Regions from separate parts of the Homo sapiens genome. Here all the other regions are linked to region 6. Evidence: promoter capture Hi-C in 16 types of primary human blood cells and fetal thymus (Javierre and others, 2016). All regions are on one chromosome and are shown on one strand. Each heading gives the region's core, a stretch centred on a gene start or on the middle of the fragment in contact. The rest is flanking DNA. Distances are from core to core; before and after follow the strand shown. Region 1 overlaps GNAQ (G protein subunit alpha q). Region 2 overlaps GNAQ (G protein subunit alpha q). Region 3 overlaps GNAQ (G protein subunit alpha q). Region 4 overlaps GNAQ (G protein subunit alpha q). Region 5 overlaps GNAQ (G protein subunit alpha q). Region 6 holds the start of CEP78 (centrosomal protein 78). Region 7 overlaps GNAQ (G protein subunit alpha q).

Evidence for each region. The method cuts DNA at HindIII sites, captures the fragments that hold promoters and counts their contacts. A CHiCAGO score of 5 or more calls a contact.
Region 1: a fragment that was not itself captured here is called in contact with the fragment with the promoter of CEP78 in region 6 in 5 of 17 cell types (total CD4 T cells, naive CD4 T cells, non-activated CD4 T cells and 2 more); the score reaches 6.7 in total CD4 T cells.
Region 2: a contact is called between a fragment that was not itself captured here and the fragment with the promoter of CEP78 in region 6, in 1 of 17 cell types (M2 macrophages). The highest score is 5.7, in M2 macrophages.
Region 3: a fragment that was not itself captured here is called in contact with the fragment with the promoter of CEP78 in region 6 in 1 of 17 cell types (activated CD4 T cells); the score reaches 5.5 in activated CD4 T cells.
Region 4: a contact is called between a fragment that was not itself captured here and the fragment with the promoter of CEP78 in region 6, in 1 of 17 cell types (fetal thymus). The highest score is 5.0, in fetal thymus.
Region 5: a contact is called between a fragment that was not itself captured here and the fragment with the promoter of CEP78 in region 6, in 6 of 17 cell types (naive CD4 T cells, total CD4 T cells, monocytes and 3 more). The highest score is 8.3, in naive CD4 T cells.
Region 7: a contact is called between a fragment that was not itself captured here and the fragment with the promoter of CEP78 in region 6, in 2 of 17 cell types (monocytes and non-activated CD4 T cells). The highest score is 6.0, in monocytes.

What each region holds. Positions count from the first base shown.
Region 1 is chr9:77,821,385-77,825,247 of GRCh38, forward strand. All of the region lies in intron 2 of GNAQ (G protein subunit alpha q), which reads right to left. Among named protein-coding and RNA genes, the nearest start is that of GNA14, 170 kb to the left of the region's middle. The HindIII fragment of the contact is 1,591 bases long and covers 1,341-2,931 here.
Region 2 is chr9:77,773,619-77,777,243 of GRCh38, forward strand. The region is part of intron 5 of GNAQ (G protein subunit alpha q); the gene reads right to left. Among named protein-coding and RNA genes, the nearest start is that of GNA14, 130 kb to the left of the region's middle. The HindIII fragment of the contact is 2,647 bases long and covers 727-3,373 here.
Region 3 is chr9:77,724,287-77,728,007 of GRCh38, forward strand. The region is part of intron 6 of GNAQ (G protein subunit alpha q); the gene reads right to left. Among named protein-coding and RNA genes, the nearest start is that of GNA14, 78 kb to the left of the region's middle. The HindIII fragment of the contact is 493 bases long and covers 1,814-2,306 here.
Region 4 is chr9:77,747,006-77,750,687 of GRCh38, forward strand. The region is part of intron 5 of GNAQ (G protein subunit alpha q); the gene reads right to left. Among named protein-coding and RNA genes, the nearest start is that of GNA14, 100 kb to the left of the region's middle. The HindIII fragment of the contact is 592 bases long and covers 1,457-2,048 here.
Region 5 is chr9:77,838,055-77,841,943 of GRCh38, forward strand. All of the region lies in intron 2 of GNAQ (G protein subunit alpha q), which reads right to left. Among named protein-coding and RNA genes, the nearest start is that of GNA14, 190 kb to the left of the region's middle. The HindIII fragment of the contact is 1,480 bases long and covers 1,713-3,192 here.
Region 6 is chr9:78,234,327-78,238,411 of GRCh38, forward strand. It overlaps CEP78 (centrosomal protein 78), which reads left to right and starts at 1,749. Exons shown (of 17, transcript NM_001330691.3): 1 at 1,749-2,277. The coding sequence starts at 2,025. RefSeq lists an enhancer at 1,478-2,147 and a silencer at 1,773-2,142. The HindIII fragment of the contact is 10,697 bases long and covers 1-4,085 here.
Region 7 is chr9:77,801,887-77,805,464 of GRCh38, forward strand. The region is part of intron 3 of GNAQ (G protein subunit alpha q); the gene reads right to left. Among named protein-coding and RNA genes, the nearest start is that of GNA14, 160 kb to the left of the region's middle. The HindIII fragment of the contact is 620 bases long and covers 1,490-2,109 here.

The sequences.
Region 1 (3,863 bases), core at 886-3,385, 410 kb before region 6:
TCTTTTCAGAGAACTCAATCTCTTTCTTGGCCCTACCACTACCATTTTCCATGTAAATATTCTTCTATTTGGTTCTTTGCTTAACATTTTCCTTTTTCATGTTTGTCTGTAATGTCATAATTATCAGTATCAATGACATTGTAGGTCAGATGCTTGATGCAGCATGGCAAAACCTACATCAAACACTTCCAGAGTATGTTGATTGATATAATTACATAATTCCATTACAAAGAACACTGCCTTCAGGTCTATAAAATCTTGGGGTACAATTTAAAATTTTGCACTCTCTGAAGTTCTACTATTATCTTCATAATTATGATGTTGTACTATCCTAGTATGGGTGTGTGTGTGTGTGTGTGTGTGTGTGTGTGTGTATGTATGTATGCATTATTAATACCACCAAAAAAACTAGTTTATCTTCAGAGAGTTTATACAAAGTCACAGTTGATTTAAAAAAATTGAAAAGAGAGATTAAAGATATGCATATTCATTAAAATTCAAAACAATTAGGGTATGGTCTGTATGACTACTTTCAAAGAATATCTGAGGAACATTAATTAATGGAAAATTAAGTTAATGGAAAACTAAGTTAATTGGAATGTTAATAGGTATTTGACAAATGGATTCTGAAGTCCAAGTAAGAGAATGGGGAGAATAATGGTTATAAATAGTCAAACAGAGGTCTGTGCTGCAGAACACAGAAGTTATAAAAAGGCAATGGCCCTTACCTAGAAAGGTGCTATAAATCCATGAGCCTAGCATTGGGGATATTATTGAATTTTCCAAACTTGTTTGACCATGGAAGCTTTTTTTGCCTCCAGATCTGTTGACGAGACTGTTGGTGAATTAAATCATGTTTTGAAAACACTGACTAGAGACTGAGACCCCTAACAACCAACTGTAGGTTGATTTTATACCAACAAAACAACTCATTGACTGATTTCTCCCCACCCTGGCATAATAGGTAAATGCCTGCTTTATAGATTCATATCATCTTCATTTCTGAGATCACATAATGTTATGTGGTTCATTTCCTGATATTATACCTCAGAAAAAGCCTAATCATTTTAGTCCTTTGTAATGTCTGTGCTCCTACAATCTCATTAACCAGAGGAGTATGTTGCTGCTGGTTTGGAATTTTATTTTATTTGACAACAGGAAAAACAGATAAAGAAGATTTCCCTGTTCAGTTGGTAGAATTCAGACAGGCGAAAAAATAAAAAGAACAAGCTTTTTGATTAAAAAAAAAAAAAAAAGGCCCAAATGCTCCCAAGAATTTCAGAGTCTTACATAGGGAATATCATCTTTCTGGAACATCCCATGTGAAATCTGACCACTGAAGCTTCAGACATTCAAGAAATTGTGTTAGGAAAAACTGAAAGTAAAAGGCTCACTTTCCTAGAATCTTGGGGAAGGAATAGAGCTTTTAGAATACCTTGCTTAAATGCCCCTTTAACAGAGCCAGAAACTGTTCCATTAATAAAAATAAAGAAACAAAAACAATACCTCTTTATCCTATGAAAAACGGTAATGAAGCATTTAGAAGTTGTTTTTTTTTTTTTCTTTGAGAAGGAGTCTTGGTCTGTCACCCAGGCTGGCAGGCTGGAGTGCAGTGGCAAATCTCGGCTCACTGCAAGCTCCGCCTCCCGGGTTCATGCCATTCTCCTGCCTCAGCCTCCTGAGTAGCTGGGACTACAGGCGTCTGCCACAACGCCCGGCTAATTTTTTGTATTTTTAGTAGAGATGGGGTTTCACCGTGTTAGCCAGGATGGTCTCAATCTCCTGACCTCATGATCTGCCCATCTCAGCCTCCCAAAGTGCTGGGATTACAGGCGTGAGCCACCACGCCTGGCCTAGAATTTAAGTAGGAAGAAGGGAAGGAAAATAACTCACATCCTACAAGGCCTGGTTTTTTTGTAGTAAGTTATATAATTTGTCACTTTAAATAAAGACCCAAATTTTGAAAATATTATAGATAAGAAGTGTAAAAAGTTACCTGGACCACTGCTGAGAAACTGTTAACTTTCCACTGAGAGTATAATAATATAGTTATAGTCTACTAACACTTTTGAGTATTAAAAAGGCTACCAAAACAGTTAATGTTTGTATTAACCTGTTCTCACACTGCTATAAAGAACTACCTGAGACTGGATAATTTATGAAGAAAAGAGGTTAACTGACTCACGGTTCTGCAGGCTGTATAGGAAGCATGAATGGGAGGCCTCAGGAAACTTACAATCATGGTGGAAGGTGAAGGGGAAGCAAGCACGTCTTACCGTGGTAGAGCAGGAGAGACAGAGAAGCGGGAGGTGCCACACACTTTTAAACGATCAGATCTCATGAGAACTCACTCACTATCATGAGAACAGCAAAGGGGAAATCTGTCCCCACGATTCAATCACCTCCCATGAGGCCCTTCCCCCAACAAGTGGGGATTACAATTTAAGATGAGGTTTGGGTGGGGACACAGAGCCAAACCATATCAATGTTGTATGTCTTTAAAGTATTTATTGACCAGCAAATCTATTTTATTACATTGATATTATTCAAGGAAGTGTGCACATTAAAAAATTTTTCAAAATATAAAATCTTCCTAAAATATAAACTTTTGATAAATCAATGTAGATTTTAAAGTAAAAAATGAGCAGAAATACTTTTCTTGGTACCTTCATGTACTTTAGTCATGTTCTTAGCCATATCTCTTTCTAACATCATGTCCCTAACATCCTTCAGAGAACTATATTTTTTCAATATTGACATATTATGTATTTAACTATTTCATAGAATTGTTTGTAACATTCTTAAAAATTGCCTTAACTATTTTAGGTCAATAAATTTGAAACTGTTAACATTTTCAACCATGCTCTTCTTGGTAGACCTTAATAGTTTTAATTCAGAAACGGCCTCTCTTGTTGGTTCAGATACTTGGTAAGCTTAGAACAAGGTCTGCTGAATGGTAAGTAATCTCACTCTATTATGTTTTTCAAATGGAAAGACATAAATATCTCAGTTCAAATATTTTCATAGAACTATCTTTCGGTATTAGTTCAGAATAGTATTATTTCACAAATATGTTTAGGAGATGAAACTCATAAATAGATTATTGCAGCTTGTTTGGATACAACTGTGATTTATGTGTGAGCCATAACTATTCTAAGAATATTTCTGGTCCACTAGTTTATTAATTTAATACATACAGTATTTTACCATGACACTATGCTCCATGAAAAATTATACTCGTATCATTACCACAAAATACATTACTTTGAACAATGACTTTTAAAATTTTTTAAAGAAGCAAAAGCATTTACTGTAGCAATCAAAACCATGTTGGATATTTCACTTTATCAGCATGAACTTCTAAAAGCTTCATCTCGATTCCATGAATTAATGAAGAAAAAACAAACCATCAATTACCTGCAAAGTTTTTCTTCTGCTAAGAGAATTAACAGATTAATTGCTATTGCTTCATTTTTTTGTACATGCATAAGAAAACCTGGAATAAAAATGAGCTAAATTAACTCGGAAAGAAAGTCATTTGATCTAAACAAAAAGTCATGCTTCACAGAGTGATATAAAAATGCATTCTCTGCTGCTGCACATGCTAAAATGTCATCTTTGGGCACAGTCTTCTGAAAATAACAGCGAACTCTTGAAGCAGAAGATTTGTGTCTTTCGTATTTTGTGTGGTTGATTATATTCATGGCTACAATGGTGAATGTTAAGTACTGATAAATAATTTTATATGAATTACACATTATCAACTTTCTTTAGAAACAAAAATACAGTACTTAATTTTTTGTTAAACATGCATTTTCAAGTTTCTAAAAAAACTTATTATGGCCAAAAAGATCTGCTGCAAA
Region 2 (3,625 bases), core at 800-3,299, 460 kb before region 6:
GTTGACTAATGTTCCACAAAAGACACTACACTTTTTTCTTGTTCCCATTTTAAAGTGACGATTCACATTATATTCATTGGCAATTCAAAAATATGCTGCTTTTCTTCATAGGTTCCCGTGTGAAAACATGTTAGAGATGTTACTGTAGGAGATTTAACTGAGGCAGAATAAGACCTGAAGAATGGCACATATATTATACTGCCCCTGGATCTTAATCTAGGCTCTCTGAAGAACATTTCACGAAATCCAGACCCTTTATTAATTATTGAGCTTGGTGTCCCAACCAAAGTGATATTATAGAATAACAAAGCCACAGCAAATGATTTAAAGTTTTATAAAATGTAGGTTCCCTGCTAAAAGACAAATTCTTCTTCTTCTTTTTTTTTTTTAAAAAGGAAGACTCAGATGGTACTCAAGAAAGACCTCAGCTGGTTAAATTTGGCCACCAAAGTGGTCCACATTCCTCTGGCTTTGAGACCACAGCATTTTCATTTGATTATCTACATTGTAGAGCATATAGTTATTTTAAGCTTTACACTCTCTGCATTTGTTCCATCTAAGATGAAGGAACAAGTGTGGAGATAAATCTTGGTGTCATAAAACTATCTCCTTTATTTCAATGAACTCTTTAATTTGTATTACTTCTAAAAGATGTATCAGTTTTGAAGATATTTTCAATAAATTGACAGAAAATGGATGTTAGAACTAATACTGCTACGTTTGCTAAGCTTCTCGGACCAGACATTTGTACTTAATTTCTCCATTTGCTTGTAACTGCATCTTATCTTTCTGAAACCAATCAGAAAAAGAGAAAGCTGCCTAAAATGCCTTTTAAAAAAATAAAAGAAAAGAAAAAATAGAGAGACAGGTTCTTGCTCTGTCACCCAGGCTGGAGTGTAGTGGCACAATCATAGCTCACTGCAGCCTCAAACTCCTGGGCTCAAGTGACCCTCTGGCTTTGGCCTCCCTAGTAGCTAAGACTACAGGTGTGTACCACATGCCCAGCAAATTTCTTTATATTTTTTGTAGAGACAGGGTCTCACTCTGTTGTCCAGGTTGGACTCCAACTCCTAGCCTGAAGTCATCTTTCTGCCTTGGCCTCCAAAAGTGCTGGCATTACAGGTTTGAGCCACCATGCCCAGCTCAGCTTACTTTTATTTTATTAGATTTTAATCTTTAAGATTTCTTATCTTTTAAGATAATCATTATTTCTTTAATCCATGTAAAATGGATTGTTCATGTAAAAATTTAAAAATGCAGGTAAGTAAAATAAATAAAACATAAAAACAAAATGACCTTTACCCCAACTATTCAGAAATAATCCCTGCTAACAGTCTGAATTAATCTTCCAGGCATATATGTATGCACCTATAATAAATATCTGTATTATATGTCTTTAAAAATCAGATGCATGCTGTACGTGCTGTTTTGAAATTATTTACATCAATATATCATGAGCGACTTTCTGTCCAATATTAATTATACATCTATATTACCATTTTTAGCATCTGCATAGTATTTTATTTTTTAGGTGTACTCTGAATTTGTTAATCGATTTCCTACAATTGGATAATTTAATTATTTTCATTGTTAACAACTTTGAGCAATGTTGTCTTTGGGACATGTAACCTACTAACTACAATTAGCAATAACATTTCTACCAGTGGCATTACTGGATCAAAGGGTATAAACACCTCAAAAGATTTTATATATTGTCATACTACTGGCAGATTGTACCAATTTATCCTCCTATTAACAGTATCTAAGAATGTTCACTTCTCCTCATCTCTCTTTTTTTTTTTTTTTTTTGAGACAGAGTCTCGCTCTATCACCCAGGCTGGAGTACAGTGGCGTGATATCAGCTCACTGCAAGCTCTGCCTCCCGGGTTCACGCCATTCTCCTGCCTCAGCCTCCCGAGTAGCTGGGACTATAGGCGCCCGCCACCACGCCCAGCTAAATTTTTTTTTGTATTTTTAGTAGAGACGGGGTTTCACCATGGTCTCGATCTCTTGACGTGATCAGCCTGCCTCGGCCTCCCAAAGTGCTGGGATTACAGGCATGAGCCACCACGCCCAGCCTCCTCATCTCTCTTTTTATCTTTGCCATTCTAGCAAGTAAAAAGGCACTTTCACTCATCAATTGTGTTTCCGTAATTATGGCATGCTGAGATTTACTTTTAAAATTCAGTTTAGATACTTGGGGCGCTGAGGCACAAGAATCACTTGAACCCAGCAGATGGAACCTGCAGTGAGCCGAGAATGTGCCACTGCACTCCAACCTGGGTGACAGAGCACGACTCTGTATCAAACAAATAAAAAATAAAAGAAAAGAAAAAGAAAAAAATTCAATTTAGAGACAAACTTATGGAATGGTGGAATAAGGACCTCTAAAAATCTATCTTTCCACAAAAGTGGCAAAAATTGTCAATATCAACTTTTTCAGATATCTGGAAATTAACCACAGGCTTGCAACAACATAACATTTATTCAAGAAAAACAGCTGAATCTAGGTGACAATAGCTTGTTTTGTGCAACTTGTGTTCCTCCCATCTCCCTTTTCCAGCTCTGCAATAGCCTAGAAAACCAACAGCTTCTCAGCCACAGTAGCTGTGAAAACCAAAAGTAACATATTAAATGTAAATGAACTAAATACGTTAGTCAATAGACAGAGATAGGCAAAATGAATTAGAAAATGACCAAACTACATGCTGGCTACAAGAGACACAATTTAGATTAAAAGACACATTGAAAGAAAAAGGACAGAAGATGACGTACCATGCAAACAGTAACCAAAAGAGAGCTAGACTAATATCAGACAAAACAGACTTCAGGGTAAAAATTATTACTAGAGACAAATAAGTACATATAATAAAGGTTAAGTCAATCAAGTAGGCATAACAATTGTATGCTTATGTGCAATAATAGTGCAATAACAATTTGTGCACTGAACAATAGAGCCCCAAAACACATGAAGCAAAAATTGACAAAACTGAAAGAAGAAACAGACAATTCAACAACAGTTTGAGACTTCAAGATTCACTTTCAATAATGTATAGAACAAAAAGGCAGAATATCCACAAACAAAAACACAATGAAAAATACTGTAATCCAACTACAGCTAACATATATCAATAGAACATGCTACTGAACAACAGCAGAATATACATCTTCTCGCATGTTCAGGTGGCAGTATTCCCCAAACTGATCTACATAGTCAACATCATCCCTATCAAATCCCAGGTGCCTTTTTTTTTTTTTTTGGCAGAAACTCACAAGCTGATCTTAAAATTTATGTGGAAATGTAAAGGACTCAAATAGTCAAAACAATCTTAAAGAAGAATATAGGTGAAGGACCCATACTTTCTAATTTCAAAGCTTACTACAAAAGACAGTGTGGTATTGACTTAAAAAAAGACATGTGCATCAGTGTAATAGAACTGAGAATTCAGAAATAAAACTTTATGTTCACGATCACCTGGTTTTCAACATGGGGGCCAAGACAATCCAATGTGGAAAGAACAGTCTTATAGTAAATGGTTCTGGGACAACTGGAAAACCACATGCAAAAGAATAAAGTTGGGCCTTTTCTTATACCATATAAAGATGGTCCTAACTTACAATGGTT
Region 3 (3,721 bases), core at 810-3,309, 510 kb before region 6:
TTCAAGCGAAATCTCCTGCCTCAGCCTCGTGGGTAGCTGGGACTACAGGCGTGCACCACCATGCCCAGCTAATTTTTGTATTTTTAGAAGAGAAGAGACAGGGTTTTGCCATGTTGACCAGGCTGGTCTTCAACTCCTGGCCTCAAGGGATCCGCCCACCTTGGCCTCCCAAAGTGCTGAGATTACAGGCGTGAGCCACCACACCCAGCAGGTTTTTTTCTATCATCAATATTCTTGTTACCTACTAGTAGGGATAAAGAGATCTTGCAGAACTCTATTGAGGGCTTGACCACCATTTCTAACAAAATGCACCCTGAGCTTCAGACAGCTGACTTGAATTATTCTCAAACCAACCTTTTTATAAATTGGAGATTACTCCAATAAACTTATATCTGATAATGCCAGAAGATGGGAGGAAAGAATTATAAAAACAAATAGACTATCCTCATTTGTACAATTTAAAAAAGTAATGTTGAATTTTTGATGTAGGTGCCCAGAATTCAATTTTTTTAATGACTAAGAGGGCTGGCATCATATTTAATAGATAAAAAGTACAATTAAAAACAATATGTAAAGTATATATACAAGCAAATATATATATAATTAATGTTCCATCTTTTTCAATGTACTATTAACTCCAGAGAAGTAATAAAAACTATTCAAAACCAGAAAGTAACAGATTACCAGAGCTGGAGAAGTCTCTCATTTCATAAAAAGAACATTATATTTCTGGCTTCTGAATGAACTTCTGTATGATTTTGTACTTACTCTATTTGGGAAGGAAGGGACTATACCTTTTTTTTTTCTTTTTTATTTACCCTACAGAATATAAGAACTAGATCCAAGTTCACTGAAGTGTACTTGAAAAGTGTTATGTTTTTAAGCATAAATTGTTATCTGAATAAACATACACTACAAAGAACTCATTACAGCCATCACAGCAGGAGCAGAATTCCACAGTCTCTATGAACAATCTTGCAATTCAAGTCCATGTGGAAAGGGTAATTTCCTTTCTTGAAGAGAAATACAGAAATGGCATTCATTATGATTAAGACCTTGTAAGTATAGAAATGTGGAAGTGTGAAATTTATAATACTATAAACATGCTTATTACAAAAACATCACTGCAGAGTGGGCCTCAATTTTTTCAGTGTTTGCTCATCTTACAAGGGCTTGGAGTTTCACGTAATGACTGCTGCGCTGGCTTTGTAATAACAAAATCAATGTCTTTTTTCTTTTTCTGTGGCCAAGTTTCCTCTGTGCATTATATGTATACTGGGGTAAGGTAACAGTAAAAAAAAAAAAAAAAAAAAAAAAAAGTCTTCAGATTTCAGAATATTCACAATGGGCACATGCTGGAAGGAAAATGCTTGTAGTGGTGGGGAATCTGGGGAAATTATTGGAGAAAGGAGGTACGTGAAGAGATTAGGAAGATGGTGCAGAGATCAAAAAACAGCACTGCAAGCACTGATCACAAACTAAGTCTTTTATTGCGGAAAAATCAGCAACTGTGAAGTGTGGCTAGGTATGCTGCATCTGAGAAGTTTGAATGAACCCCTCAGAAGGGTTCACCTCCGTGGGCACCATGCTCTATCTGTTCTGCATCCTCCCTTATGCAAGCACATCATGAAAACGTGCCAGCCCACAAGATGGGGTGTTGTGTATGGTGTGGCAATTTCTCACACGCTGATTCTTACCAAGTTCCAAGAAAAATTAAGAAGAACCTCGAGTGTGTGTGTGTGTGTGGCAGGCAAGCGTGTTTAGATCTAAGCCAGATGTTTCATGCCTACTGTATTCAGGTAGATGTGTTTGAAGCTTGAGGTGGGAAAGCAAGTTAACTACCCACACAGTCACTTCCTTCCATAGTTTTCTGAGCAACACTGAGAAGTGCAGTCTCAGGCATTGATGATTTGTTTCCGGGCTAGTGCAAATTAAAAGGAGTGAAAGAGAAAACACTGTTTAGACTGAGAAAGTGTTTTTCAAAGAACAGCAAAGCACAAAGGAAAATGTACTTGAAGAGAGGATATGAACACAATGCTAACAAAAGGTACCATTTCTAACATCTGGTGACATCCACAAATGTTTATATTTTCAATTCACCAACCTTCAGGATCTTACATGTATTTGAGAAGGGAACTTCAATTCATTTAACATGTAACATTTCCCTTTCATGAGCCAGGACTGTACCACATTCCATGTGGGATGAAAAGATGACTAAACCTCCATCCCTGATGTGTTTGTATCATCATAGAAAGCTATGAAGCTAAATTTAATCTTGGTTTTTAAAGTAATTACTTTTCTGAGGAAGCTTTTAGTAAGTACAAAAACACTGTGGAATGATATCCATCCTGGATATCATATGTTGACAATGTAATTTTAAAAATAGTCTCTTCTCTTGTTGTTATATCACCTCTATGGTAGATACTTTTGGGTTTCTGCTATGTGATATATGTATGATTCCATTCAATTCTTTCTTGCCCAGGGATAAACTGAGTAGCTAAATAAATTTGTCTGAGGCAACACAGACAGTGAGTGGCAAAGTGGAACTTTTCAGAGCTTGTGCTCTTAACTATCTAGACCACGGCTTGGCAAACTTTCTCTGTAAAGGGCCACAGAGTAATTGAGGCTTTGCAAACAATTCTATCTCTGTCACAATTATCCAATTCTGCTGTTATGGTGTGAAAGCAGCCATAGACAGTGTATAATGAATGGGTGTGGCTATGTCTCAATAAAACTTTATTCATAAAACCAGGTGGTGGGCCATAAGGGAGAGATGTGATTATCTTGCCAAATAAATAAACTTTTTTTTTTTTTTTTTTGAGACAGGGTCTCCCATCACCCAGGCAGGAGTATAGTGGCAGGATCATGGCTCATTGCAGTCTTGACCTCTTGCCAACTCCTGCCTCATTTTTTATAGATAGAGGTCTCGTTACATTGCCCAGGCTGGGCTTGAACTCCTGTGCTCAAGTGATCCTCTCACCTCAGTCTCCCAAAGTGCTGGGATTACAGGTGTGAATCACCACACCTGGCCACATAGACTCTTATAGGGCAGCAGTCGTGACTCTCACTTGTTTTACATAGTGGCTACATGTGGATGCATTTTGTTACCAATCACCAAGTGTTCAAGTGTTTCTCAGAATGGGTTGGGTGTCTAGTTGTCCAGGATTTCACAGTCTAGTTGGGGAGGGTAAGATCCTTTTCTAAGAACAAAGCAAATAATGCAGAGCCATAGGAGTAGTGAAGTGGATGCTATAGATTCTAAGTGCTGCACAAAGAGCTTAACACTGGGTTACTATTAGTAATGGTGGTGGGACTTCATTGGGCTATGAAGTTTCAAAAAAGGAAGTATTTCCTGAGTATTCATAAGTGTCCTACGTGTCAGGCATCATGCTAAACGTACACATATGTTATATACTACAGTGCACAAAACAATCCTATGAGTTTGGTCGTAAGGCCCAGAAAAATCAAGTGACTTGATGGTAGTTCTACAAATAGGAAGTGTCAGAACTGGGATCTCAACCTTGATAGACTGATTTCAGTGGTGGGCTCTTAACTTCAAAATTGTGTTCCTCCCCAGAGAGAGGAGAGGCAGAGGTGGACGGTAACCAAATGAAAGGGAGACACAGAGGGGACTATAAGAGTTAATACACAATTGGTCAAAACTACTGGATTGTTCCTTTTTCTGATCTGCTATTTCAAAGCAGATGAGTTTCTTTTCTTT
Region 4 (3,682 bases), core at 503-3,002, 490 kb before region 6:
ACTTAAAAAAAGATATACTGGTTCAGGTGTAAAATACAGTTCTGGGAAGAAGATACATATGAAACAGCTGGTGGTAGTTACCCAAATTTTAAAATGGGGGAGGTAGAGTGGAAACACAGGAGAGTTTTCACTCTCTTCTGTAGCCTTCTATGTATGTGGAATTTTAAATAATGAACATATATTACCTTAGTTATTAAAATAATAAATATATTCTAAGAAAATAATACATTTATTTTATATTTTAAATGTAACAGAAACATCAAAAGGCAAGACAACAAAGCAGCAGACAAGCTCATTGCTGGGAGTGACTCATGGTGCAGAGTTTGATAAATGTCACAGAGAAAACCAGAACCTTTTAACTCCTACTTTTGATCCTGAATACCCTGTTATGAAGAAGACTTTTCATACTGAAAAAGGTAGAGGAGATCAGTAAAAAGTAAGACTGGGAAGACTACTCTAATGAGATCAAGTATCTTTAACTGAAGACTTGACATTCTAAGACATTATCTAGCTTTAGTTATTACCATTTTCATAAACATCAGTTTATAAGATTAGCAAAGCCAGCAGGAATGGTCCAAAGACCCTTAATTTAAATGAAAAACAGGCACAGAATGGGATGATGCATGGAATGAAGTTTGACATACACTGTATTGAGAAAACTTTAGGTATTCTGAGGGCAGCCTGAAGACTCCATGCACCCACCCATAGCACCAGCTAGACAACAGGAAGAGAAGGCGAGAAAGAATTAGTGACAAACTTTCCTACCTTTAGAATGTGTCTTCAGGTTGTAATTCCCGTGTGGGACCTAATTTCTTGAACATCTGCTCTGCGCTAGGTGCTTCACATGCTACCTCAATTAGTTCATGCAACCTTGTGAGATAAAGACTTAAGTTTGAATTTCCCTGGCTACAAGTCCATGGTTTTTCTATTAAGCCATGTTGGATGGTGTCAATTGGTGACATCATCCATGTGAACATTCCTCATGTTTAGATCTAGCAGGACAATGTGGCATAGAGAGGGGTGGTCAGGAGAACTGAGTTCTTAGCCTGGTCCCAAGGCCACCTCTTGGGAAGTCCTTTCACCACTCTGGGGTCCAGTTTCCAAATCCAGAGTCTCCTCTATCTAACATTTTCAGATGAAATAAAATCCAGTGAAAGACATAATAACGGAATAAATATTTTCAGCTATTATCTTAAATGGATTACTTCAATATTCATCTTTTGTTTAAATCTACATCTCATTTCTCTTTAGGTAGTATCTTTTTGAAAAGCTGTCATTTCAAAGTACTGAAAACCTAAAATCTAGGCAATGAAAGTAGAGTAAATGACTGAGGTTTTCCTAAAATTACCCTGGAAAGATGAGAGGATTCAACTACTGTTCTGGGAAATGGAAATAGCTGTTCCCAGCACTCACTCCTCCCCTGATGCTCCCAATTAACTTTTAAGGACAAGCATGAAGCTTTGTAGAGCTTGATGCCTTCTGCAAGCACTACAGTAAATGTGGGGCATAAATTGCCTCCCATTAAGACAACTGTGGAGGATGACAGAAGTAGGTCAGTTTCAAACAACAGCCTAGCTTAGTAGCCTAAGTGGTATCTGTAATTCTAGGGTTGGGGCATCTTTGAAAGCACTGGCTAAAGGAAAAGTTATTTAACCCTTCTTTGCTGAATTTTCCAGCTCTCTCCACTTCTTGAGAGAAAATGTCAACTGTTATTGTCAGATAGAATATGAAAATAGGTAGCACAGCAAGAACATGACAAATGTTTAATAAATTACAAAGTAAATATAAATGACAAGTGTTTAATAATTGGATTTTGGCCCACAAGTGAGGTATGATCCAGGTACTGGAGCCAGTCCAGATGTTGTATCGGACTGGTCCTGTTATAAGCCAGATTCCACCAGTATAAAAAAGTTGAACACAGGGATGGAATGACTCCTCAGGGTAAGAAAGGGAAAGGGGGAGTTCTGAAGGAAGGCCATATTTCTGGCTGGGACACTGGCTTCTGACAGATTTCCAGTGGTTGACTGCATCCAACACTTCAGGCTTCAAGCTTTGGCTCTAGACCTACCTCCCTGCCCCATGTTCTCGACCTTAGCATTTGGGAAGGCTGTGGGGTCTTCACTCTTCACTGCCGCCAGGTTCTCAATCCTTTCCATAGTTTTGGCATTTTCTCTCTCCCCCTGGCTGCCATGGACCCATTCTTGCTTTGGGTCTAAGTCAAAACATCCCACTCAAACCAATACCTTGTGAGGAATGAGGCTCCACTGTACAGAAGCAACGAGCTGATGCCAGTTAAGACCTTATAAAGTGAGGGGTCTTGGGCATTTCACCCCCGTGTACTCCTTACTATAAATAAACACCCTTAACCAGGTGGTAGAATGTTATTCAGGAAAACAGGCAGAAGGCTTTAAATATGTTAGCAGATCCTTCTATCCTTCCTTTTCTCTTTGTTTAGGTTTCCCAGGAATGTCTTGTACAGGAACAAGTTTTTGCTGAGAACTGAGGACTTCAGAAACATTTATTTCCATAAATAATATACTAAATGCATATAATTTTTCTCTAGTTGCTAATACTGGGACTTGGATGGGTCTTCCAGGACAATAGGTGAAGGGTTAATTCCACATACTATACACAAATTGGTATTTCTCTAAAATAATGTTTTCAAACTAATGATAACAATCCACAGTAAGAAATACAGTTTACACAGCAATCCAGTATATTCACACACAGAAACACAGACATATAAAACTAACATTTCATGAAACCATACTTTTCCTTACAACATGCAATGTACTCTATTCTCAATTCCATCCCATCCTCCCTATAAAAAAATGCTAACAAGACCTATTAAATTGATTTTACGACCCAGTAAATGGGTTTTGATGTGATGAAAAAAATATTGTGTATATTTTTTTCATACATTGTAATTGTTCATATTCTGTATTTCTTCACTAATTTAGACTGTTTTATTCTCAATTATACTACAATAGCAAATATTTTGCAAGATTGGGCTAAAAAGTCTCTGTGGCCAAATGAATATATAGTTTTGAAATCTGGCTGCAGATGTGCTGATTGGCAAAGAACATTTAATTAGTCACATAAGGTACATCTTTAAAAAATATTATTTCCACTGAAAATCAGCTATAAACATATTTTCTTTTATAAATACCAAATTAATATTAAAGAAGAAATCTTGCAAAATTCTTTCTACCAATACCAAAAGATTTCTAATGCATGGACTAAAAACTCTGTTATAGGATTATCAGAAACAGATGTTTTTGATATTCAATCTTTCTTAAATGTAAAATATGAAAACCAAGCAAACAAAGCATTCTGCCTCTTCCATGCAGTTTTAATCATAATACAGTTTTACTTAATTAGCAAATACAGATGGGGCCTTAATAAGAACATTTTAAATGTAAGAGGTTTTTGTGATAATATAATCCCACTAGTAATGATCATGTTATCATCATTATGTAATTTAGAAAATTTATGAGTCAGTGAAAGTCATTTTCAAGATGGTATACAGAAGTCGACCTCATAACCTCCATTCCAGCCAAATGGCACAGCTCAAACTTCCTGAATATGCTTACATATTTTTTGTTTTATTACCTTTATTTCTAACTCTTTCTTGAAGTCTTCCCAGTCATCAAGCTGGAAAAAAAAATCCCTCCCTCCCCTG
Region 5 (3,889 bases), core at 1,203-3,702, 400 kb before region 6:
GGTCAGGCTGGTCTTGAACTCCTGACCTCAGGTGATCCACCAACCTCGGCCTTGCAAAGTCCTGGGATTACAGGCATTAATGATTTTTTTTTTTTTTTTTTTTTTTGAGAAGGAGTCTCACTCTTGTTGCCCAAGCTGGAGTGCAATGGCGCAATCTTGAGTCACCGCAACCTCCACCTCCTGGGTTCAAGTGTTTCTTCTGCCTCAGCCTTCCGAGTAGCTGGGATTATAGGCACGCACCACCACGCCCAGCTAATTTTGCATTTTTAGTAGAGATGGGGTTTCTCCACGTTGGTCAGGCTGGTCTCGAACTCCCGACCTCAGGTGATCCGCCCACCTTGCCTCCCAAAGTGCTGGGATTACAGGCATGAGCCACCACGCCCAGCCAAGATCCTTAAAGTAAAACGTTGTTGCTCACGTATTTTCAGTTTTGTGTTATGAAATCTGTGTGCCCAAACAATCCAAAATATATAATTCGTTTTCTGGGTGGGAAGCAACTATATTTCTGCCTCATGATGGGAAATAGAACCCAAGTAGAAATGGGGTAGAATTGGGGTTTCACCATGTTAGCTAGGCTGGTCTCAAACTCCTGACCTCAGGTGATCCACCCACCTCGGCCTTGCAAAGTGCTGGGATTACAGGGGTGAGCCACCGTGCCCGGCCACAAGAATTTTTAAATTGATACTTGCTGCAGCATTTTCTGATTTGTCTACAAAGAGCTACATTACTTGTACAATTTAATATATATATATAAATGTATACATTAAAAAGAGAACCCTAACAGTTTTCACTTGGATGCTGCTGAGATTTTTAGTGGCAATTCTGAAGAGAAGATGATTTCTAGATAGTCTTTGTGACTCTGATGAGGAAAAAAAAAATCTACTGTAAAAAAACTCCCAAAACTTTAGTTTCTGAGACCTGACTCTTCATTAAGAGAAGAGTAGTCATATGGTACCCTCTTCACCATCTTCTTCTTTGGGGTCCATACTGGCTGGGTTGGGAACTGCCTCTTTCCCTTCCCTGATGCCTCCAGTAGAACCCTTCACTTCTAGTTCTCAGACTCCATCTCTCTTATTCCCCCAGGCCTCGTGGTGAACAGCAATATGTTGTTAGCTGCTACAGCAGCTGGTGAATAATCAAAGTTCTTACTGAATCATTGGTTAATCAAAACTAGAAGTTAGACTTGACTGATCAAGAGCTTCAATTTTTACAGTAAAATGGGATGGCCATTCAAAAACTACTTTATTTCAGACAACCCTTCATTAGCTTGTTTGAGACTAAGATAATTAAAGTAGGGTTGATATGACAATTTCCACTATCCATAAATCATTACATCTCTCAACTTTATCCAGAGACTGGTACCAGGAATCCAAAGTCCTGGGCTAAGTATACTGGGGAGAGAAGGGTAAGAAATTTTAAACTTCCAAATTATAGCCTTCAGATTCCTCATTTGATTTTAAATACAGGTTTCCCGAAAAAGGTAACGTTCTGCATTCCAGTATGTGCTTCCCTGTGGTACTGAAATCCTCATGGCACTGCCAGTGATAGAGCAGCAGCATGGGCTGCCTGCCCTGAAGCATCATGTGGGCCATAACTTGAACGAGGCTCCAAGAACTGGAGATAACCAGAAGGGCAAGAAGGTATGGGTTGATCACTAGCGTGGCTATACTTTAACTTGGAGGAAACACTGTTATTAAATTTAGGTGGGTGGAAGCTTTCTATTTAAGAAAAAGTACCTTACTCCATAGTGGGTTAAGTGCTGAAAAATACATAAGAACTATGTATCTAATTAGAACATTAACCCAAAAATGCCTTCCCTAATACTTTAGCATTCCTGTGCCAAGTTATGATGACAGAGAGCTTTGTTTCTTAACACTTCTGAGACTTCTGAGAGCCAAGTTGAACTTTGGACTGTTTTATTTTCTTCACAGGCAAATGGAGAGCATAACCTTTCCAAATGACTCAGTGATTCATCTTTAATTCATTTTTCCTGTCTGGGAACCCGTGCGTTTTCCTCTGCAAATGCTCCAAAGTACATGTTTCATTTTTTAAGAAAATGTTATAGTTCTTCCTTTGCCATTTTGGATGCATAGTGTATTCAGTAAATGGTTGGTTGAATAATGGCTTCTCTAAAGATACAGTCTGGTGACATGAAATAATTGGTATACTTCTAAATAGAACATTACCTCCTTCAAAAAACAATGAATGAATTAGCATGTAGATAGATGCAAGTTTATTATCTCTGTCCTCATTCTCAAATGGGTATTTGGTGCAGATGTGTGCATTTGATTACTTTTTGTTTTTTTTTTTTTTTAGACGGAGTCGGAGTCGGAGTACAGTGGCATAATCTTGGCTCACTGTAACCTCTGTCTCCCAGGTTCAAGCAATTCTCCTGCCTCAGCCTCCCAAGTAGCTGGGATTACAGGCATGCGCCACCACACCTGGCTAACTTTTGTATTTTTAGTAGAGATGGGGTTTCACCATGTTGGCCAGGCTGGTCTGGAACTCCTGACCTCAGGTGAACCGTTTGCCTCGGCCTCCCAAAGTGCTGGGATTACAGGAGTGAGCCACTGCACCTGGCTGCATTTGATTGTTTTATAACATATATAACATGTTTGGTCTTACATCTGAATCAAATACTTTAAAACAAAAAAGAAAAAAAGAATAAATGAATTATCAGTCTTCCATTGTTGATTTTATAGTCTAGATCATGACAATGTGTTTGTCTCTAGGGAAGGGGTGAGAAGATGATGATTTGGGCATAGACCTTAAGTTCGTGGGGCAGTTCCTTTATCTGAGCCCAGGGTCACAATTCATACTCTTCCCTTCAGGGAGAGCACTGGAGAGAGATGAAAGGGACACAGGTAGGGAAAGCAGACCGATAGGCCACTCCTGAGCACTATACAAGGAGTATTAACTGGACTCTGGGGAAGACACATGGTAGAAGAAACAGCACTCCCTCTACCAGTCACTGCTGAGCTCATACTGTTACACGTGAAGCCCAGATATCACACCTCATGTATTCATGTTAAAAAAACAAACAAACAAAAAAACCCCAGCCCAACCAAATTGTATTGAAGCACAGACACACATACAAAGAATTTTCGTAATATTTTCTGCCCCCATGGGAGTTTATGCTTACCTATAAAAGAAAAAAAGAAAACTCCGAATGTATAACACATATATTAGAGAAGCTTTCTTAACTGCTTTGTGGTGAGAGGCTTGCAGTAAAAATAGACATTGGAAGCATTTAAATAAACAATTATCCAGCATCTCACACTGGAGTCAAATTTTACATTGACATTTCCTGCAAGGGCAAATGGGAGGAAAAAAGCCCAAAGCTCTCAGTATATATTTAAACCAGCACGGCCACAGAGAAATGATTGGCAATGGAACAATCAGTATTCGGCAATTTTCTCACAATAAATTGGACAAAATCACTGCAATTTGGTATAAATGTTCCTTTCAGGAATTATATTTTATTCTAAGGTTCTTCTTCCCCCTTTGCCTCCAACTTAGCTGCATCCTAGAATTTGTATATCAAATGAAGCTACAAGAATCATTATTATTTTAGATTTATCAAGGGTTGTGCCCAACTATTATATGTAAACACATAAATGAGTAAGTGAAACAAATAATATGTAAACTATGCAACGCACAGTTTGGCACTGGTCAAACTCCTCTGACACAGGACTACGTTCATTATATGGAAGACTCTGACTAGACACCATCCTTAATACTCAAGTTTTATTCTTAAAAACAAGGAAAAACTGAGTCATAAGTTCTTAGTAGGGAGGCTCAGTGGTTTCTTGGTAAGGTAAAACGCTTCTATTCTGTGTCTTCAAGTTGGGAGTGCCCTCTACTGCCCAAAAGCATGGCTTCAGTTTTG
Region 6 (4,085 bases), core at 499-2,998:
GAACAGCAATATTTAGAGTGGATATGCAAGAGAAGCCAAAGAATGAGACTGAGAAGAAGAAATTCGAGAGGTAAAGAAAAAGAAATCAGGTGGCTTCATGGGAAACAGGGAGGAGGGAGCTTTAAAAAGGTAATGGACACTACATTAATTGATGCTGGAGACTAGAAAGAAAATGGATAGAGCAACAAAGAAATCGTAAAGTTGGAAACAATTTAAATTACCATCAACAGAAAAACAGACACATTACTGTATGTTTCTACATGGAACTCCCATATAACAACAGGGAAAATAAATGAATATCTCTATATGTCAACACGGATGGACCTAGTAAAGGTAACGATAAGTAAAGTAGGAAAAGAAAATATAGAATGTTATATACTGCTTACTTACATATGTAGCAGAAATATAAAGACATACATTGCAACGATGAATACCAAGTTCAGAAGAGCAGTTATCTCAGAGTCAGAGAGTAGTCGTGATTGGGAAGGTGGTTACACAAAGCTCTTCAACAGGAATGGTAATGTTTCATTTATTAAGCTGGTTTATGAATATACAAGCGTTTACTATATTAAGATTTGAGCATGTCGCACATAAAAATAATTGGTGACCATATCTCCGGAATTTTAGAGACGCCTGCATATGTGTGTTGGAAGTAAGTTGGAGTATCCGGAATGCAGTGGGTGGAACAGGAATGCAATAAACACAATGTCTAAGGCTCTACCGGAGGACTATCATTGCTCTAGCAATTGCATACCAATAGAAGGAGAGGTCAATTATCTGGATTCTTCCACTTAGCTTCCACTTAACTTCCCCGTTCCTCAGTTTCCCCTTTTGTAAAGTAGAATATAATAGTATATTCCTTGAGATGTTAGGAGAATGAAATGATTTCATACTTAAACATTGCTTAAAATAATCCCGAGGACATTATTTCAAATAAGTACTAGTTACAAGGGAGTTAGCCAACATCATCGTCAGTACAAAACAAACTGATTCACAGCAAACACAATAAAGTCCTGAATTCATGAAACACTCTTCAATTTGCCAGGAACCGTGTGAGATATGCAGAAACTACAGAAATTAAGGCTTATTTGTAGATATTAACACAGACATAAAAGATTTAATGACCGCAGTTCACGTTCAATCAGCCGTTCCCACATCCCTTGAGTGCAGTCTCTGTGCTGGCTGGACACTGCAAGCACAGACACATTCCTCAGATGTTTAGACTTTTTTTAAAAGTGCGTTGTTACATCCACATTTCACTTTTTATTTTCTTTCTTTTTTTGAGACGGAGTTTCGCTCTTGTCGCCCAGGCTGGAGTGCAATGGCAAGATCTCGGCTCACTGCAGCCTCCGCCTCCCGGGTTCTAGCGATTTTCCTTCCTCAGCTGGGATTACAGGCGAGTAGCTGGGATTACAGGCGCCCGCCACCATGCCCGGCTAATGTTTGTATTTTTAATTGAGACGGGGTTTCGCCATGTTGGCCAGGCTGGTCTCGAACTCCTGACCCCAGGTGATCCGCTCGCCCCCGCCTCACACAGTGCTGGGATTACAGGCGTGGGCCACCGCGCCCGACCACACATTTCACTTTTATTCGGATCGATCAGTAAACTCTTTCGCAAACCCTCAAACTCTCCCGACCACTATCTCAGGTAGCAGCGAACTCACCCGTCCTCAGGAGGCGGGACCTGCGTGCCGACGCACAGCGAGCACGTTGACGTCTTGGCGCACCGTTCCACGGCACCGCCCACCGGCTTGAATCCCGGCGCCTCAGAGGACTATGAGGCGGGCGCCAACTGCTTGGGCCGCAGGGCGGGAGGCAGCGCGGGAGTGGGGCGTTGAGGGGCCGGCCTAGCTTGGGGCTCTGGCCTTGCGTCTTCCGACCGAATCACCGCTCCTGAGCCCGGTGCGGGGCTGCCGCTATCGCCTGGCCGTGGGTGCCGGAGCGGCCGGGTTGCGACTCAGCGTTCTTGGGTGGGCGCGGGCGGCGTCTCCGCGGCGGGCATCCCCCGAGGCCGCCCTCGGGCCATGATCGACTCCGTGAAGCTGCGCCGCGACAGCGCGGCGGACTTCTTCTCCCACTACGAGTACCTGTGCGCGCTGCAGAACTCGGTGCCGCTGCCCGCCGTGCGCGCCTGTCTCCGGGAGGGCGTGCTGGATTTCAACGCCGACCGCCTCCGCGGGGTGGACTGGGCGCCTCTGCTGAGCACCCTCAAGATCAATAAAGACCTGCCCTTGGTCTCCATCAAGAGCTTCTTCCAGCCCTGGCTGGGGGACACAGGTTTGTAGTTCCCGCCTCCAGGGCCCCTCAGTCGGTGCGGCGAAGTGGGTTTTTAGGTGAGTGGTGTCCATTGTCGGGGTATGTGTGCAATAGAAGGGGTGTGCGGCCTGGACACTCACGAGCTAGGTGAGTGGCTTAAGGTCTCTAGGGCTTCAGTGTGCTCATCCGTAACATGGGCTTAATAACGAGACCCAGGTTATGTGCGCCTTCGCAAGGATTCCCTGCGCTGCTGATGCCTGCAGAGCTCTTAGCACAGTTTGGGACATCATTAAACATTTGACAGATGTTACCTATTTTATTGAATGACTTTGATTTGCCTGATAGAGAACTAAGCAGGTAGGAAATTAATACATGTCAGCCTTTGTCTTTTTTTTTTTTTTTTTTTTTTTTTTTTTGAGACACTGTTTCACTCTGTCGCCCAGGCTGGAATGCAGTGGCAAGATCTCGGCTCACTGCAACCTCCGCCTCCCGGGTTCAAGTGATTCTCCTGCCTCAACCTCCCGAGTAGCTGGGATTACAGGCGCGCGCCACCATGCCCGGCTAATTTTTGTATTTTTAGTAGAGATGGGGTTTCACCATGTTAGCCAGGCTGGTCTCGAACTCCTGACCTCAGGTGATCCGCCCGCTTCGGCCTTCCAAAGTGCTGGGATTACAGGCATGAGCCACCGCGCCCGGCCTGTCTTCATTTTTTAAGGTGTATATAAGAAGTTTGTAAAGTGCTTTACAAATACAAGCCATTTGTAAATGTATAGTGGTATAATTAGGGATCCAGACTCTCTGATTATTCGGAAAATATGTTAGGTCAACTATGATATATGACAAAATGCTGTTATTCCTTTGAGCACTTAGCATTTTCTACATAATGGAGGCAGCTTCCTATAGACGCTAGCTAGGTAACAGGAAGGAACAGTTTGTGCAAAAGTTTTGGAAATAGGAGAGAGTATGCAAGCTGAGTTACAGGACTGGAATTTAGGTTTGAGAAAGAGCAGAGAGAGTTGAGGCTGGAAACCTTGTGGGGGCCAAACAGGGAGGGTCCTCGTTTGTCCTGTCATAGAGTTGGATGTTTATCCTGAAGGTTTTGGGAAACCGCTGTAGGATGATGAGATGGAATTTCCGTAGGAGCTCAGTCTAGCCTCCATATGGAAGACAAATTAAAATTGGAAGGATGGTGAATTGTAATCTAATGGCCCAAACTAAGGTATAGAAAAGAAGGGCTGGGGCCGGGCACCGTGGCTTATGCCTGTAATCCCAGCACTTTGGGAGGCCAAGGCGGGGGGGTGTGGATCACCTGAGGTCAGGAGTTCGAGACCAGGCTCACCAACATGGTGAAACCCCATCTGTACTAAAAATACAAAAAAAAAAAAAAAAAAAATTAGCCGGGCGTGGTGGCGGGCACCTGTAATCCCAGCTACTTGGGAGGCTGAGGCACGAGAGTTGCTTGAACCCAGAAGGTGGAGGTCGCAGTGAGCTGAGATTGCACCGTTGCACTCCAGCCTGGGCAACAAGAGCAAAACTCTGTCTCAAAAAAAAAAAAAAAGAAGGGTAGGATTTCAGATATCTAAGAGAATGGATGGGCGTGGTGACTAGTTAGAAGAGGGGGGCAGCAAGTATGGGTGACAGTTTACAGCAGCGTCTGTAAGTGAAACACAGCAGCGTCTTTCCATGACACAGCCGAGTTAACTCGAATGAGATTGGGGGTGGGAGGAGGATCTCAGTTTGTCTTTAATGTTTTAAGAGGGGCCTGTGGGGCATCCAAATGTGTCTGCTAGGCAGATCTGGGCCCAAGATTTAGGCTTTGTGGGAGGACA
Region 7 (3,578 bases), core at 550-3,049, 430 kb before region 6:
ATTTTTGGCTGGGCGCAGTGGCTCACACCTATAATCCTAGCACTTTGGGAAGCCCAGATCACTTGAGGCCAGGAGTTTGAGACCAGCCTGGACAACATGGTGAAACCCCATCTCTACTAAAAATACAAAAATTAACTGGGTGTGGTGATGCATACCTGAAATGTCAGCTACATCGGAGGCTTAGGCATGAGAATCGCTTGAACCTGGCAGGTAGAGGTTGCAGTGAGCCACCATTGCACCACTGCACTCCAGCCTGGGCAACAGAGTGAGACTCTGTCTCAAAAAAACAAAAACAAAACAAAAAACAAAAAAACCCTGCATTTTTCATTGCCAAGAAGGGATCAAAGAGCTGCTGCCCGCATAACCCCCAATCCCATGCAACCCCCCTCACTCTGGGCTCACAGGACTCAGAGGAGGGATTCAGCACACTCTGTATTTCACATCTGCCAGGGAAAAAGGGAACTTTGTTCCCCTAGAAATGGAGTTCTAGCATGGTAAGAGTAGAACATCATCATTTGATGGTCCTCGTCACATACTGAGAAAAGGTAATAAAATAATCTCTTAACTGAATTGTACTTTCCATTGAAGCATTTTCTATTCTAAAAAAAAAATTGGTGGAATATGAGGGACAGGTTCATGTTAAATTATTCCATTCATTCGACCTTTTAAAAAAAAAACCACACCGAGGTCTGAACAAATTTATACTGTAAATTCAGAGTTAATTATAGCCATAATTTGTTTTGTAGGAATGATTCTGAGTGGCTGTTGAGGTCATTCTCAAGGGTGTTGCCATGGTGCCAGGCACAGGTACATTTCCAAGGCAATGTATGTGTAACAAGTATCTGGTAGTGACTCTCTCCTGATGTCAGGGAGAGGAAGCTCCCATGTTTTACATAAGGCTTGTTAAGTGTCTAGGAGACAAGCTATTCATGTTAGAAAATGGGAGATTTAGCTGCTTAAACCCACCTTACTCCAATCCCTCCATGGGGATTTAATGACTTTTCACTGTGCTGAGACATTATAAATTATTAATTTATAATTTTTTTTAAAAAAAGAAACCCCGAGCTCAATATTCTTCCACATGTTTGCCCAGTTAGCTATGGCCCTCACACTCGGTGGTCAGGGCCCACAAGTGCCTTTGTCCACGGCTATATCAACAACACTTAGCCAAGGGCCTGGAGCACAGCAGGTGCTCAGCATGGACCCAAATTAAAACTATTTTATGGGAAGTGCTGTAGTGGTTAGAAAGGCAAAAACACAGGAGAGGGGAGGTTGTTAGCTATCCATCCTTACGAAATTACTTCTCTCGGCTATTACTGGCCTGCATCATGTAATAACCAAGTTCTGAATAAAAATGTCTCTGACAAAGACAACACAGAAAGAGAAAGCATTATTTGTTTAACTTCATTTAGTAGATTTGCTTCCTGCTATTCTTTAGGTCCTGGCTAGAGAATGACAAAATGTTTATGTCCATTTTATACCTGTTTCAAGCTTTCAGGCCTTAGCATTCTGTCTAACACAGTGCAAACTGAGGAGGTGGGACTTTATCAACAAGACATTTCTGACACAATCTTCTTGATGGAAAAAAGGTTTTTGATGGTTTTCTGTGAAAAGTGAGGGAACACAGACACTTGCATATTAATGTTTCAGTGATTCCTTTCTGACCATAAGCAAAATGCAGAGTCATCTGGAATTAAACAACATATTTTGGCCATGACATTATGGTAGATGCTACAGATAGGAAGATTCATTGGATATGATCCTTACCTGCAAGGAGTTTATCAATTTGTGGGGAAATAAGGGTTACATAAAAACAAGAATGGTGAGATTTATAGAGATGAAATGAACCTTTGTATATTTTGGATACAGTCACTTTCTGGGAACCTGTTCGAACAATCTCTAGCCCTTGGTGATAATCCTCAAAACATTCTTCTGTGTAGTATGGCTGCACTGCATGAAAGACTTAACAGAAATCATGCCCATTAGTTTACACCTTGTAACAGATAAATTCTTTACACGCTGAATGTCAGGATAATCTCTGGCTGAAGAAAAATAAATTCAGAAACAGGACATAATCCACTACTTTAAATGATTAAAATATATGACAGAAGCTTCAACTTCTCTAAAATAATATGCCCAAATCAATATTACATACAACACTTTCTCTCTTATGTTTTAAAAAGAGATTCCAATTGTTCCTTAATTTTGACACTTTATCAATAACAGTTTTGAGGTGACCTTCAAATTAATTTATGCTCCCATTTGACATGAATGCAAACTGATTTTTAAAAGTCTCTTTTTAAGATTAAAAAGAACCACCCCTCCCCCCACCTATGACTGGAAGAGTAACTGAAATCTAGACCAAGAATAGCACAGAAATTAAAAATTCAAGTGCTTTGTTTTCTCTTAAATGAAGGAAACAAAAAATTAAAATTTAGAGATATGAGCTGGCAGGTAAAACATATCACATTATAGCTAGGGTTAATAAATTTTATAAGCCAGGTGTGGCGGCATGTGCCTACAGTCCCAGCTACTTGGAAGGCTGTGAGGCAGAAAGATTGCTTGAACCCAGGAGTTTCAGGGTGTAACCACTGCACTCCAGCTTGGGCAACACAGTAAGACCCTGACTCTAAATACATATATTAAAGTTAGAGGCATACAACCCTCAGTAATCACACCAAAAGGCAAAAAGTACCTGTGGATAGTTAAGTAGGAACAGAAATCTCTGAAATTTCATGCAAATCCAACCAGACACAATAGGATAAATGAAATCGCATCTTGGGGCTTTCAATGTAGCATGACACGGGGTGTGTGTTGGAGGTTGGGGAGCTCTTTGACCCCTATGTAAGGGCCTCCTATAGAGAGGCTGCATTTATAACAAATTTGCAGTTCACGTCAAATATTAAGATGAAGTTATGGCACAGAAAATGATTCTGGGTAGGTCTTCACATTTTTAATTATTGAAAAGAAGGTTAGAAAAACGAGGTCGACTTCATTTAAAAAAATTAAGAAGACCTCATTGTGAGAGGAACAGTCTTTGGGGAGTTGAAAGCTAGATCATGCCATGAGACGGTGTCTGACACTATCAAAAGCACTGGAAGCTAAAGAGAAATCAGAAACACACAGTTATCGTGCAGTTGCTATATGACCACAAAAGTCCAAAGGAAAAAAGTGAAAAAAAAATTGTAAAGTGACCTGCAAAAACAAATGAAGAAGTAACAGTTCTGCAAAACTGGTATCTTGAGGGGAGAGTCAAGGAGAGGTTTTGGTAGCATAACCTACTCTAGTCCCTTCCTCATCTGGCAAATCCTGTGGCTGACAGGAGCCTGGCTGGTAATCTGGTTAGGATGGTTAGTGGCACAAGATTGCTCACTCCACAAACACTTCCATCTCCTAAAAAGCTCATTTTGCAGAGAGCAAATCAACTTTCCTTTTTCCTTTTTGATACCTGACATACGTGTTAGAGTTCAAGGATGTGCAGCATTTATTAACAGGCATTTTGTTCATAAGAAGCTTACTTTTTTTCTTTTTTTTTTGAGATGGAGTCTCGCTCTGTCGCCCAGGCTGGAGTGCAATGG